5 separate regions of the Homo sapiens genome follow, and all the other regions are linked to region 1. Evidence: promoter capture Hi-C in 16 types of primary human blood cells and fetal thymus (Javierre and others, 2016). All regions are on one chromosome and are shown on one strand. Each heading gives the region's core, a stretch centred on a gene start or on the middle of the fragment in contact. The rest is flanking DNA. Distances are from core to core; before and after follow the strand shown. Region 1 holds the start of PPP4R3A (protein phosphatase 4 regulatory subunit 3A). Region 2 overlaps TRIP11 (thyroid hormone receptor interactor 11). Region 3 overlaps TRIP11 (thyroid hormone receptor interactor 11). Region 4 overlaps TC2N (tandem C2 domains, nuclear). Region 5 overlaps FBLN5 (fibulin 5).

Region 1 (2,867 bases), core at 342-2,841:
TCAAAATTTGTGAAGCATAAACACTAGGGAAGATCCGAAAGGTTTTAAAAATTATCTGCCAACTTCTCTGCACCTGTTAACCAAATTATGAACACCCATTTAAGCAATCAAAAAAAGCTCATATGATTCCAACTTTGCAAGATGTTTATATAGTAAGCTACACACAAAATTCTGCATTACTATAAAAAAGACAACCAACACTGGTGAACGAAAATCTTCGCAAGGGAAAGCGTTTTCTCTTAGTGTAGAGTTGCCAGATACAGTGTTGCCAAGCTTCAACACGATCAGAAACATGTAGCAAAAAGATGTTTAAAAAGAAAAACAAAAAAAGCACAGCAAAACGTTCTTCAAAGTGTGAAAGGTCCAAGAACTTTCTTAGCTCCAAGCAAAGTTTCATGCCTGCTTTACAGATGGGTGAACTAAGGCAGCAGATCGGATTAATCAGTGTCTTTCTCAAGGTCACTCTAGTGCAAAAGAACAGCACACTCCGGACTCCCTATCTCAGGTCCTCGACCTCTCCACACTCCAGGGCGGCACAGCTCAAACACGCTTGGCTCTCCTCGTACCCAAAATGCCACCAGGCACTCAGAGAAAGGAAACATTTCAAGCGCTCTCCGGGGAGCTCCCGCAAGACTGGGGTACCTGGGGCCCGTCCTCCCCCGAGGTGGCCGCCCTCCCCAGCCGTCCCTCTGTTCTCGTGGAGCGAGCGCCATGCCCCGCAAGAACCAGGGAGGCGGCCCAGGGCCGTGGGGGCTGCGAGGGTCCCGCCGCGCGGGGCTTCACTTACCGTCGCTCTCAGCCCTGACAAGCAGGGACATGCCCTTCAGCCGCTCCACGTAGCCAGACGACACATGCCCGGTGCCCCGGTCGTCCCACTGCCGGTCCTCGTTGAGCGTGTACACCTTCACCCGCCGCCGGGTGTCGGTCATCGTGCCGCCCGGGAACCGGGGCGGGGGCCCCGCCAGTAGACGCCCAGGAAAGGGGCCCTGGAGAGGCGAGGGGCGAGGCGTGAGGGCGCCCGCGAGCGGAGGGCTCCCCGGCCTCACTGCCGCCGCTGGGCGCCGCGGGGCCGCGCCGCCGCCTGCATGGCCCGCTCCAGGGACCGAGCTCTGGGCCGCCGCCTTTCCTCGCCTCCGGCTCCCCGGCGCTATTGTCCAGGCCTGGCGAGCCCGGCGCCCGGCAGCCCCGAGGGGGCCGCGCAGCGCTTCGTAGCCTCCCGCCCCGCAGCGCTAGGAACTCGGGGCTCCCGTCACTGCCCTGCTCCCGCCTCCGCCATGATCTCCGCGAAGCAGCTTCCCGCGCCGCCGCCGCCTCCTCAGGCCGCCGCCGCCGCCGCCATATTTTCCTTCCTTATACCTGGCCCTGCCACCGCGGCCAGTGGCTCCCTTCCGCTCCCCCTGTTTTAAACGTCAGAAGCCGACAGGCGCCTGATCCTGCTGCAACTGCTACCACTGCCCGGGAGACTCTGAGGGCCCCCGGCCGCCCAAGCGACCCGGACTAGTGGAAGTCGGTTTCCCTCCGCCGCCGTCTCTTCCGTCTTCCTCACACAGCCAAAACCGCCGCCATCTTGGTTCGCCCCTCAAAAGCGGCGCGCGGGGCCACCCAGGGAGCAGCTGCAGGGGCGGCTCGTAGCCCCACCATTTAAAGAGACAGCAGCGAGACCGGGAGCCTTACTGCGGCGGAGGCTTCCGACGGAGGCGGGAGGCGGGCGCGGAGTTGCCGAGGTGGCGGGAGCGCAGGGAGCGGAGGAGGCGGGACGCAGATTGCGCCGGTGACAGCCCGAGGCTCCCTCCCGCCTCCTTGCACGCACCGTCGTGCGAGCGCTGGGCGGTGTGTGCGTCCGTCGCGCCCTGTGTTCGTCATCAGCCCCGCTCCAGGATGCACGAGGGGCGTGGATACGTTTGCGGCCTCTGCCCGCGGGCCCCGGCGCTTCGGCCTCGCCTCCGCCCGCCGCCACCTTCCCTTGTTCCTGCCCCGTCCCTGCCTCTGCCCCTGCCCCTGGCCTGCGGACGCCGGGCAGCGTGGGCCTGGGCCCCTACCCGCTTCCGAGAGCGTTTTCCCGGGGCCGCCTTTATGGCTGAGTCGGGCGCTCGGGACCCACCCGGCGCCTTGCGGACTTGAGGGAATGAAATGGAAACGCTTCCGGGGAAGGTCGCGGGTGTGGGCGCCTAGGTCGGCGCAGCCTTGGGAGCCGCCGTGGGTCGCGGACTGGCGTGGCCAGTGTGGAAACTTGGGACTGTTTGCGATTTCTGGGCGTGGGACCGAGTTCCAAGTGACAATTCTAAAACTTCACCTTACAGCCTAGGCAAGCCCCAAGTGCTCCATTCCTTCATCCCTATCAGAACTGTCTGCCAGCCTTTCTTGTCGGAAAAGGAACTTAAGGCGCTCACAAAAACAAATGCGACACTGTGTAATCGGGAGGAGTAATTCTCAGCATTAGGTAGTCCTGTGTTTTGAAGACCTACTTGATGTCAAGTATTGTTGATCTTCACAAAGGAATATCATTCTCGTTCCTATCATGCAGCTCATATGCCACCATTTTGGTGGCTTTTACCATTTGCCAGGCCTTGCCAGGTCGGGCTTGTCCGCTCGGAATATAATGCAGCCACACACATAACTTTAAATTTTGCAGTAGCCACAAAAAGTACGAAGAAACTGGTGAAATTAGTGTTAACGTTTTAGTGCGGTATTTTCAAAAGTTATTTCAATAATCAAATTACTAATGAGATATACGTACAATGTCTTAAAAATGTGATATATTTTGTCCTTCCAGCAAGTCTCTGTTGGGATACTAAATTTTCATCAGAAATATCTACGTTTAGATTTTATTGAAAAAAAATTTTTTTTGAGACAGGGTCTCTCTGTCA
Region 2 (2,819 bases), core at 234-2,733, 460 kb after region 1:
GCGGGGTTCTGGATCCCACAAGCAAGGTCTATGAAATACAGGAGGATGAAAGAGGATAAGGAATAAGAGGAACGAATAGGGAAAGAAAAGGCAAGAGAAGAATATTTGTATGCTTATCTAATACCTTATTAAACACATTACAGCTCTTGTTTTATACTTAAATACCAGTTATGTAACTGATGAACTTCATTTACCATAACAACAGCTTTTTAAATGGTGTCATCTATGTTGCAAGGCAAACTCTTTACTTACCCATCTGAATAATGAAAGGCTTAAGGAGTTACGTTCTCCCCAAATAATTACAATAAAGAAAAACAAACCCATATTACAATGATAACAGTTGAATTAATATTTGCCAGAAGAAAAAACAATATATACATACCTTACCTGATCATCTTTTAGGCAGTCAAAGGTTTGAAAACAATCTTGATTAGATTATTTTTCTATGAAGTTGGGCTAATACAATTCCTTTTTATTGGAATAGGTAAATTCCTAATGTCTTAGTGGACAGATTCTGCTTTAATGCCCAAGACCTCTGACAACTTCAATGGTAACAGACAAGCAATCCTTTGAAGGTGCCTACTTCAGCAATGGGAAACTCAAATAAAAAAGACCTCCTAAAGCAAAGAAAGCACTAAGACAAATTTGTCAAATCTGCTTATCATTGAGCACTCTTAGGGTTCCCAAGCCGTACTTTCCTATGAATGACAACTTTCCGAACTCTGGGCAAGCTTCTGGTGTTACCTAGTGAGCTCTGACACACTTCCAAATTCAAGATTAAAGATTAAGCTTGCTTTGTTCATGCAAAGCCTATATCAACCCAAGCCATCACCAGCTTTTGTATCCTATCAATACAAATCAGGCTGGGCACTGGACTTGATACAAGAAAGGGGAAAGGTAGGAAAGAGGAAGAAAAGTGAGAGAAAAGAAGGGGAAAGGAGGGAGAGGGAGGGAGAATAAAGAAGGAGAAGGGAAGAAAAGGGAAAGGAAGGGTGGGAAAAGAAGGGGAAGGGAAGAGAGGAAGGGAAAGAGCCTGCCATAATGAATTTGGGAATCTGTTTCAAGATGCTACAACCTAGTGTAAAAGAAAAACTGTTTTCAGTATAGCCTACACCTCTTAGATAAAGTTATGACTTTTCACAAAATTTAGCAGGCAAAACTACTTACTACCTAAAGGACTGATAAATTTTACTACTTTCCCTTCCTATACAAGTTCAGAAAAATAGAAATATTTGTCTAAACGACAGAAGTTTCAAAAATTTCAGAATATAAATTCTTTATTATTTTATCCAAATTTAAGCATCTGATGTGTGATATGAGTATATAACATATACCTTTACAGTCCAATTAGTAAACATATTAGTCTATTAAAATATGAAGATTTCAGAAGAGCTCTTCCAATAAAGAATTTGTTTATAGTCCAACAGATTATAATTCAATTTCAATTGATAAATTTTCTTGCGTGCCAGTATATATGATATGAACATAAATAAAACCCTTACAATTTAGTGAGACAGAAAAATATGTACACGTTAACCACCACCAACCGTCCGCTCTAGGCAGATCTTTCAACATAAAAGAGTGCTTTCTACATTCTTGGAGTCTCAAGTCAGTTTGTTAAACTGCGCTTATATATATTAACATGCCAATGTTTGGTTACTGAGTGTAGCACTTAAATTTTCAAAGGAGAAAAACCCTTCTCAAACTATAAACTACACATCTAACTCGGATTAGCAAGAACCACCATTAGTGAGAAAGCAAAGCAGGTGGCCAAGAAAGATGTAACCAATTCCCCATCACTTCCAGAGGAATAATTCATAGCTGGTTAGGCAGACAGAGAAGAATTATTCTGATATACAAAGGGAATATATTTCTTACCATTTAAATTAATCTAAGTCAATTAAATATCAGATTGCTACAAGAATATATGAAGCAAAAGCCTGATGCCTTATTGGAAAAGCCTGATGCCTTATTGGAATTCTGGAAGTCCTGATTACACATTTCCAAAAATACTAAAAATTTAGTTAATATCACTGTGAAACATAATCATACATTAAACATTCAATTTTCAAATTATAGAAAAATTAAATCTCTAGTTTTACCTTTAAAACTTTCTGGTGCATTTGTATCTCTTTTTCTTCTTCCTGGTGAATCCAGAGGTTTCATATCATGAACAGAAAGCTTTGGTGGTGGAATGGATGGATGAGATTCTGTTTCTAGAAATTTAACAAAAAGTTCTGAAAAAGACTAAGAAAAAATATTTTGGTTATATTAGGCTAGATAATTAAGTTATATTCACTACAACTAAGGAAATGTACCAGCTTTTCTAATTAAATATTAAAAATTAATCATGCCACTTGAATAATTTTTTTTTACAAATCAGCTTTATGAACAATTGAAAATACTGGCACTTTTTTTTTTTTTTTTTTGAGACGGTGTCTTGCTCTGTCGCCCAGGCTGGAGTGCAATGGCACTATCTCGGCTCACTGCAACCTCCGCCTCCCAGGTTCAAGTGATTCTCCTGCCTCAGCCATCTAAGTAGCTAGGATTACAGGTGCACGCCACCACGCCCGGCTAATTTTTGCATTTTTAGCAGAGACGGGGTTTCACCATGTTGGTTAGGCTGGTCTCAAACTCCTGACCCTGTGATCCGCCCACCTCGGCCTCCCAAAGTGCGGGGATTACAGGCGTGAGCCACCACACCTGGCCTAAAATACTAGCACTTTAGATAGATGATCATCATTACAAAAATTTAACAATTTAATCAATAGTCTGATGGTAACACTCACTTCTAACACCTCATGGTCAGAATTAGCCAA
Region 3 (2,700 bases), core at 122-2,621, 480 kb after region 1:
TCAATATATAAATTTGACACATATACATACACACCCTACTGATCCTGCTTTTAGGGGCTGAAACCTGATTGATATATAGAGGGAATGAAATTGAAAATTTTAAATAAAATATTTACTATTCAAAAATCCACAAAACTAAATTTAGTGTGAAGGAAATGTAAACTTTCAAATGATTTTTTTAACCCACACCATTTGTACTTATGAAGTTATTAAAGCTTAAATCTACGCTTAGATTTTTTCCAAAATCAGCATTTAGATTTTGTTATTCTTTCTACCAGTTGTTTGGTTTTTATTTCATTAATTACAGCTTTTATTTTTATTAATTCCCTCAATTTCTTCTCATTTATTTTGTTCTTCTTTTAAATGTATATTACACTTTAAATTTTAAAAAATAAAACTAGTTTTAAAAGAAGATTTGGCTGGGTGCTGTGACACATGCCTATAGTCCCAGCTAGTCAAAAGGCTGAGGCAGGAGGATTGCTTGAGTCCAGAAATGCAAGGCTGTAGTGCACTATTATGATCACACTGGTGAAGAGCCACTGCATTCCAGCCTGGGAAACATAGCAAGATTTCATCTCTAATTAAAATAAGAAAAAAATGCCAGGCATAGAGGCTCACGCCTGTAATTCCAACATTTTGTGAGGTCAAGACAGGAGGACTGTTTGAGCCCAGGAGTTTGAGACCAGCCTGGACAACAAAGCAAGACTCTGTCTCTAAGAAAAAAGAGAAGAAGATCTGGACTTCCATTCTAGCAGTTCCACAGACTGTATACTCTGGATCCACTAGAAACCACTAAGAGTATTAGATAAAATACATCTTTTAAATGTATTAATGAGCTGACAAGAAAGTAAGTATAAATGGTCAATAAACATATTAAAAGATGCTTGACCTCACTGGTAATTAGGGAAGTGCAAATTAAAACCACAGGAAGACAGCCCTTCTGCTATGGCTTGAATGTATACCCACAAGTTCATTTGCTGAAAACCTGATTCCCAATGTGGCAGTATTGGGAGGTAGGGCCTGATGGGAGGTGTTTGGTTCATGGGGGCACCACCCTCATGAATAGATTAATGTCCTTATTGTGGGAGTGGGTTCATAATCAAGGAAGTAGGTTCCTTGCAAGAGGAGGAGTTTGGCTCCCTCTTGTTCTCTCACCTTACCCTCTCTTTGCCACAGGATGATGTAGCAAGGAGGTTTACCAGTTGCTGGCACCTTAATCTTGGATTTCCCAGCTTCCAGAACCCATGAGCTACTAAGTTTCTGTTCATTATAAATAAACCAGTCTGTGGTATTCTATTGTATCAGCACAAAATGGACTAAGACACTTCCTACCCATCAGATTGTCAAAAACTTTGAAAGTCTGATAATGTCAAGTGTTGACAAGGATGTAGAACAAGAAGTCATGTGCCTGCTAGTGGGAGTAAATTAGCACAACCACTTCAGAAAACAATTAATCATCTAATAAAGCTGAAGTTGACCATATATGTCCTATAACTCAGCAATTCCAATCAAGATATACATCTAAAAAAACTCTTGTATGTTTAGAAGATATCTGAAATACCCTTTATTAATAAAATGGGTAAATTATATATTAATGCAATGCATACAGAAGTGAAAATAACAAATCGCCTATATACAGTAACACACAGTAATATGACTGAATCTCATAAACACTATGGTAAGTTTTTTAAAAAAGCAAGTCTCAGCCGGGTGCGGTGGCTCACGCCTGTAATCCCAGCACTTTGGGAGGCTGATGTGGATGGATCACCTGAAGTCAGGAGTTCAACAACAGCCTGGCCAACATGGTGAAACCCTGTCTCTACTAAAAATACAAAAATTAGCCAGGCGTGATGGTGTGTGCCTGTAATCTCAGCTACTTGGGAGGCTGAGGCAGGAGAATCACTTGAACCCAGGGCAAAGGTTGTAGTGAGCTGAGATCACGCCCTTGCACTCCAGCCTGAGCAAAGAGCGAAACGCCGTCTCAAAAAAAAAAAAAAAAAAAAAAAAGCAAGTCTCAGAAAAATTACTGAATTTACATATAGTTCAAATTCCATTTACATAGACTTCAAAAATATGCAAAACCAAACAATGGATTGTTTGGAGCGTCAAACCTATGTGATAAGAACCATAAAGAAAACAAGCAGAAAAAGAAAAAAGAAAACCAAACAAAATAAGGAAGTAATAAACATAACATTTTGGAATAGTGGTTGCCTAAGAGGTGGAAGATGAGAATGGGATGTGAAGGGGTGCATAAGGAACTTCAAAGGATGAAGTTTTATTTCTTACACTGGGTGGTGACAGTGTGGGTATTTGCTGCATTGTTAGTCTTATATTTTATACATATTATCTAAATTGTTTTGCAGCCATTTAATACTTAATTAAAATGTTAAAACTTTATTAGGAAGTATATCTTCACTTACTTGGGACGTTAATGTTCCTGAAGAACAGCATAATTACCTCCACTAATGTCAGGTAAATGAATTTTATCATTTTCTACCAGTTATTGACAGTCTATTTATGACATAGAAAAGCTTCTCCTAGGCCGGGCATGGTGGGTAATCCCAGCACTTTGGGAGGCCAAGGCGGGCGGATCACGAGGTCAGGAGATCGAGACTATCCTGGCTAACATGGTGAAACCTCGTCTCTACTAAAAATACAAAAAATTAGCCGGGTGTGGTGGCGGGCACCTGTAGTCCCAGC
Region 4 (2,744 bases), core at 76-2,575, 270 kb after region 1:
TAAGCTCATTTAATTCTGTGAATTAGGATGGACCATATGGATGATACTCTTATTTTAACTCCAAATAAAACAAATAGTAAAATATTTGAGGGAAGAAAACAGCAAAGTATGTATATTCTGGGTTTCCAATTAAACTTCAACCTTCTGGTGTTTTCAATTATTCCTGCCAAAATGTAGTTTTCTATTTCTGAAGTTTTTTGGAGATAAGTAGCTTACAAAGGGATAATGTGATGTCTTATGGGTAAAAAAATTATAAAACACAGGGCACAAACTTTCTCCAAATATAGAAAATAGTTGAAATGGTTCAATTCATTTTTACCGGGAGAAAATACATAGCAAGAGGTAAACAGTGGAGCCAAGACCTAATCAATAATGCCTAGCACTGAAATAATGGTAAAGTCTTCTAAATGCCAATAGTACTAACAGAGACTTGATATACCAGGTTTTGAATATCTAAGTAAAGCTTAAAATACAAAAGCGAAAACATAATATAGAAAGAACTATCTATGGTTGATATTCTCACAGACTTTATAATTTATTTAGTCATCCTAATAATACTTTGATTTTACTGTCTGTGTCTCTTGTTGCAGTTTTAAAACATTTCCTTTACTTTGGATATCTGATAAAATTCATTACATTTTCTTATCAAATTTTCTATCAGATACATTATATACCATAATTATAGCCCCCATAAATTGACAAATTTGTTGATTTGCCTCTTCTCATTGGTAGCAAATTGAAATCATAAGTCTTCTAAAAGAATGTCAAGTTCTTCACCAAATTAATGTGTGAAGTCTTCAAGATGGATTTAATTTGTGCCACCTGATAACAACCTTTTCTGGATTTATTACTGTCTCTTTCCACTGGTTCACTGCTTCAATGTTATTACTGTCTTCACTTATCCAAATCTGTAAAGGAAAGTATGTACAATCATTTAACTTGACACAATAATAATAACTACATTCAGACAGTTAGTTACTCTTACTGATGGAAGAAATTTGGAAGTTTGCTTTACATATTTTAAATTAAACATCTTTCTTTTTTCCAAAAGTCAGATTGATTTCTCTATTTGACATTTAAATGCTAAAACATTTAACCTGCTTAGTCATTCTGAAGACTAGTTTATAAGGTTCAGTTCAAAAATTCAAGGTGAAATATTACAAAATCATTTCCCCTAGAACAGTTATTAGTATCCTTTCCTATTCAACAAATCTAGGAGCTCAACTTAAAACTGATCCCAACCACTCAAAAATATTTTTGTAAGGATAATTAAACTGAGGCTAATCATGATTCAAATTAGATTGGTAAGGAATGTGCATTTTAAATCACCTTTTACAAGAAATAAAGTGTAATCTTAATTAAAATCTAATAGTCATTCTTGATCAATAGTAATTTCATAGTACCCATCACTTATGTAACTTAAATACTACATGTGAATGTATACATAGTATTATGCAAATTGTACAAAAGACATCACAATAATTATATTATTATGAAGACAAGGAATAAAAAAACTTGAATTTTCATCTTACCTCTAGCACTAACAAATGCTTTTACCTTGAAGTTAACTTCTCTGAGATTCAGTTTCTAAGAGATTGGAGCAGGTCATTGGTTTCAACCTTTTTCCTTTTCTTTCTTGGTCTAAAGAACCTTCCTTTCAAATGAAATCTTACAAATAATCCCAGTATGTAAAACAGACATTAGAGTACTTTCGTTGATACAGGGGTGGAAGACCTTGAGTTCCCCTTTGGCTACCCCATCATAGTTCCTCCTAAGGCTATACCAGATAAGCCATACGGAGCAGATGACCAGCAAGAACCTTTCCAGAATTATTATTCTAACTAGAATCTTAGCCAAGAGAATGGAATCACCACAAATGTTATCATGAAAATCATCTCAAGTAAATTTCCTATTCCATTCATACCGTTAAGTTGAGGCTCGATGATATACGAAAACTTTAACTGAATTGACTTCATAAAGGCTTAATGGTCTTCAAAATTATGCTGGTTATATGAATTCTTAAATTCAAGCTCTTTTCCAAATAATAAATGATAAAACAACATTTTAATTAGTATTTTACGTAAAAATATATATTAAAAAGTAAATCAAGGAGCTGATATCAATGTTTGAAAATTCATATATAATTTGAGGATTTCATGTAGACTGTTAATAATATCTTGTCAAGTTGAAGCTTTTAAACCAATAATATAGATTTTGGAATTTAAATGTGGTTCAAACAATCGTAATTAAGGTAAAAGATAATGGACAGCTACCACTAGTCTATTCAGAGTAAGGAAAGGAAACAAGTTCCTAGAGGACTGGCAAGTTAACAAGTGTTATGTTGTTTTATACAAATTGTACCAAGATTTTAAAATAATCCAGACAGTAGTATTAACTAAATAATATCACAACCACTGTTAAAATGGACATGTTCTAGGAATTCAAAACTAACTCAGGTAAGAGAATATAAAAAGTGCCCATGTTAAACATTAAATCAAAGATTAAACAAAATAAATTTGATACTCGAAGACTTAAGAAATTGATTTAAATACTTAATGTTCCCTCCTTCCACAAGGAACAAGTCAGTAGTACTGAAAAATTGATAATTCTCATCGTTTTTGAAGTAAAAAAGCTCAGAAAAAAACATATTTAAAGATAAACCTGATTGCTCAGAAATTCCAACTATTTGTATTAAAGCAAAAAGTCTGACAAGTTTCGATTTTTGTAGCAATTGAATTTTGATT
Region 5 (2,700 bases), core at 193-2,692, 410 kb after region 1:
ACAACTCATGATTTTTGGAGATTAAGAAACCAGAGACTTTGGGCTTTATTCAGCGCTGCCAATGGCCTGCCAGGTGATCTTGGACAAATCCTGTCATATCACATACCTATCCTCCAGATTTCTCAACCAAACTATAAATGTCCCTCCTTGGTAAAGACTTCCTCAACCCCCTTGGGCAGAATCAGCTGTTCCCACGATTCTCAGTCCATAGCAGCCTTGTGGTGGTTTATGCAGGAGTTGCCAACCCTCCTCCTGGCAAGCCTCCAACCCACATACTCCATTGCCTGTGGCCCCCAATGGTAGCACGAAGTATGGACCAGGTCAGCCCAAGCCTACCCTCAGCACTCCCTTGGCCAAAGCAATATCTTCAGGGGATCTATCATTAGAACTGGTCTTCAACTCCTCTTTGTCAGGGAAGATAGATAACATTTCATGGTTAAAACCCAACTCCAATCTGGCAAAATTTCAACTTTGTTCTTCTGAAGCCAAAGGCTAGTAGGCCTGAGACACAGAGGGTTCTGAAAGTACCACATTGGGAATTCTACGAGGTGTTCTATGCAAGCCAGTCACGACATTTTAATTCTCTTACCCAGATGTCCTGCGGCTTCGTTGGAATTCTGAACCCAGAAAGTAAAATCCGTCACCTGGGATTTTATGAAAATTATCCATGTAATCTTTACCCAAAATTAATAATGACCCTTAGAAAAGGCTCAAGCATGAAAAAGTTAAAGAAAAAGGTAGTAAAGCAGAGAAGAGCTGAGACCAAGTAGCTCCCAGAGTTTCTGCCAATGCTTGTCCTTCTTCCCTCTCAGGTGCAAGACGATTGATTATGAAGCAAGAGGTTCCAGCTGAGCCTTCAGCCAATAGCCAGCTAACAGGTACTTAGCAAGCACCAACTATGGGCCAGGCAGTGGGGATGCAGCAGGTTACAAGGCAACGTTTCTTCCCCTCTTGAAGTTTACAGCTAAGGGATGGGAAAATCAACAAACAAATACATAAAAAGCCACCAATCAGTGGCTCTCAAAGTGCAGCCCCCGGGCCAGCAGCGTCAGCATCACTCAGAAGAAAAGACCCCACCCCAGACCTACTGAGTCAGAAACTCGGCAGCAATCTGTGTTTGAAGGCCTCCGGTGGATTTAATGCACGCTGAAGACTGTGCTGGAAAATGATAAGGCTGTGATTGGGAGTAACTGCGGTGTAATTTCAGACAAGGCAGCCTGAGTAGGACTCTCTAAGGGGTGCCATCTGAACTGAGCTGAAGCCAGAGAGGAGAATGAGCCCGCAATGTGAAGAGCCAGGAGAGAGTTCCAAATAGAAGGAAGAGAAAGTGTGAAGGCCCTGAGGTCCAGAAGGGCCTGGTATATTTGGGGTAGAGAAAGGAGCTGGCATGGTGCCTATGACCAACCAGGGCACGTCGTGGGATGGCCTAAAAGGGCCTAAAGCTGGCGGGCCCACATGCTGGTCAGCCTAAATCACAAGCAAACTCTGGGATGTGGGACAGTCATGGAGCCCTTCCACATATTCTCTAAAATGAAGGGGCAGACAGGCGCGGTGGCCTGTAGTCCCAGCACTTTGGGAGGCCAAGGCGGGCGGATCACCTGAGGTCAGGAATTTGAACACGGCCAACATGGCAAAACCCCATTTCTACTAAAAATACAAAAATTAGCTGGGCCTGGTGGCAGGTGCCTGTAATCCCAGTTACTCAGGAGGCTGAGGCATGAGAATCGCTTGAACCCAGGAGGCGGAAATTGCAGTGAGCCGAGATCGCACCACTGCACTCCAGCCTGGGTGACAGAGCAAGACTCTGTCTCAAAAATAATAATAATAATAAAGTAAATAAATAAATAAATAAATAAATAAATAAATAAATAAATAAAATGAAGGGAAGAACATTCCTAGGCCTGCCTTCCTCCCTGGGCTATTTTGAGAATTCCATGAGCTGGTGGACACGAAAGCATTTGGAAAAGCGAGAAGCAGTGTTCCAGTGGGAATTACTACAATGAAAGGACTCATGGCAGTAACCGCAGGACCCAGCCTCCATGGGGAGAAGTGGAGACCACAACAGACCACAGGCCAGTGCCACCTGGCCCCCAGCCACTGTCTGCTCTCTGGAGAGAAATGAGATTGAGACAATCCTGGAAAAAGGATCTGTTGAGGAGGTCTGAGGTCTGAGGTGGGATTTTCCAGAGACGTCTGATGGTGGGATCGCTTACATCTCTACCTTGTTGGTCAATCTGGGAGGATTCTTGGCTTCCTAAGGAGCTTGTGTTTTGCTCCAGCTGCTTGCAAACTTCCCCCAGGAATTATAAAGGCAGTGTCAGATTTCTCACAGGACCAGGCCAGGCCCTATCATCACAGTGAGAGCCAATTTCATCCATCCACTGATGCCCCTTTTTCAGGGGTCTCGGCAGAGGGCTCATCCCTGTTTTAAGCCTAAAGGAGACTTTGACCAGGACCCTGAGAACATGGAGGTGATGTAATTATGAGGTGACCCAGTAATTAGCCCCTACAGCTTAGACTACATGCAAAATCAATGCCTCAAATGAGAAGATACCATCTCCGAAAGCTGCCTGTCTCCAGAAGCCACCCTTCACCTGGTTGTCATAAGCATCTTTGCATCCTGAGTGGTCAAGGCTGGAGGAAGCCTCACAGATAATGGCCCAGCCCCTCTCATGCAGATGTGAACTGAAGCCCCAGAAA

What was found. Contacts are between HindIII fragments. The CHiCAGO score rates a contact against its expected background, and 5 or more counts as called.
Region 2: a fragment that was not itself captured here is called in contact with the fragment with the promoter of PPP4R3A in region 1 in 11 of 17 cell types (M2 macrophages, erythroblasts, M1 macrophages and 8 more); the score reaches 7.2 in M2 macrophages.
Region 3: a fragment that was not itself captured here is called in contact with the fragment with the promoter of PPP4R3A in region 1 in 13 of 17 cell types (megakaryocytes, M1 macrophages, M2 macrophages and 10 more); the score reaches 11.6 in megakaryocytes.
Region 4: a contact is called between a fragment that was not itself captured here and the fragment with the promoter of PPP4R3A in region 1, in 1 of 17 cell types (naive CD4 T cells). The highest score is 5.0, in naive CD4 T cells.
Region 5: a contact is called between a fragment that was not itself captured here and the fragment with the promoter of PPP4R3A in region 1, in 2 of 17 cell types (megakaryocytes and M1 macrophages). The highest score is 6.2, in megakaryocytes.

Annotation. Positions count from the first base shown.
Region 1 is chr14:91,508,719-91,511,585 of GRCh38, forward strand. It overlaps PPP4R3A (protein phosphatase 4 regulatory subunit 3A), which reads right to left and starts at 1,592. Exons shown (of 15, transcript NM_001366432.2): 1 at 788-1,592. The coding sequence starts at 929. RefSeq lists enhancers at 192-843, 844-1,494, 1,312-1,591 and silencers at 602-651, 902-961, 972-1,071, 1,652-1,851. The HindIII fragment of the contact is 5,922 bases long and covers 272-2,867 here.
Region 2 is chr14:91,970,615-91,973,433 of GRCh38, forward strand. It overlaps TRIP11 (thyroid hormone receptor interactor 11), which reads right to left. Exons shown (of 21, transcript NM_004239.4): 20 at 2,103-2,247. Among named protein-coding and RNA genes, the nearest start is that of FBLN5, 24 kb to the left of the region's middle. The HindIII fragment of the contact is 1,392 bases long and covers 788-2,179 here.
Region 3 is chr14:91,990,097-91,992,796 of GRCh38, forward strand. The region is part of intron 15 of TRIP11 (thyroid hormone receptor interactor 11); the gene reads right to left. Among named protein-coding and RNA genes, the nearest start is that of FBLN5, 44 kb to the left of the region's middle. The HindIII fragment of the contact is 2,316 bases long and covers 214-2,529 here.
Region 4 is chr14:91,782,303-91,785,046 of GRCh38, forward strand. TC2N (tandem C2 domains, nuclear) reads right to left here. Exons shown (of 12, transcript NM_001128596.3): 12 at 1-908. The coding sequence ends at 798. Among named protein-coding and RNA genes, the nearest start is that of CATSPERB, 52 kb to the left of the region's middle. The HindIII fragment of the contact is 1,728 bases long and covers 462-2,189 here.
Region 5 is chr14:91,920,482-91,923,181 of GRCh38, forward strand. The region is part of intron 4 of FBLN5 (fibulin 5); the gene reads right to left. Among named protein-coding and RNA genes, the nearest start is that of FBLN5, 26 kb to the right of the region's middle. The HindIII fragment of the contact is 3,943 bases long and covers 1-2,700 here.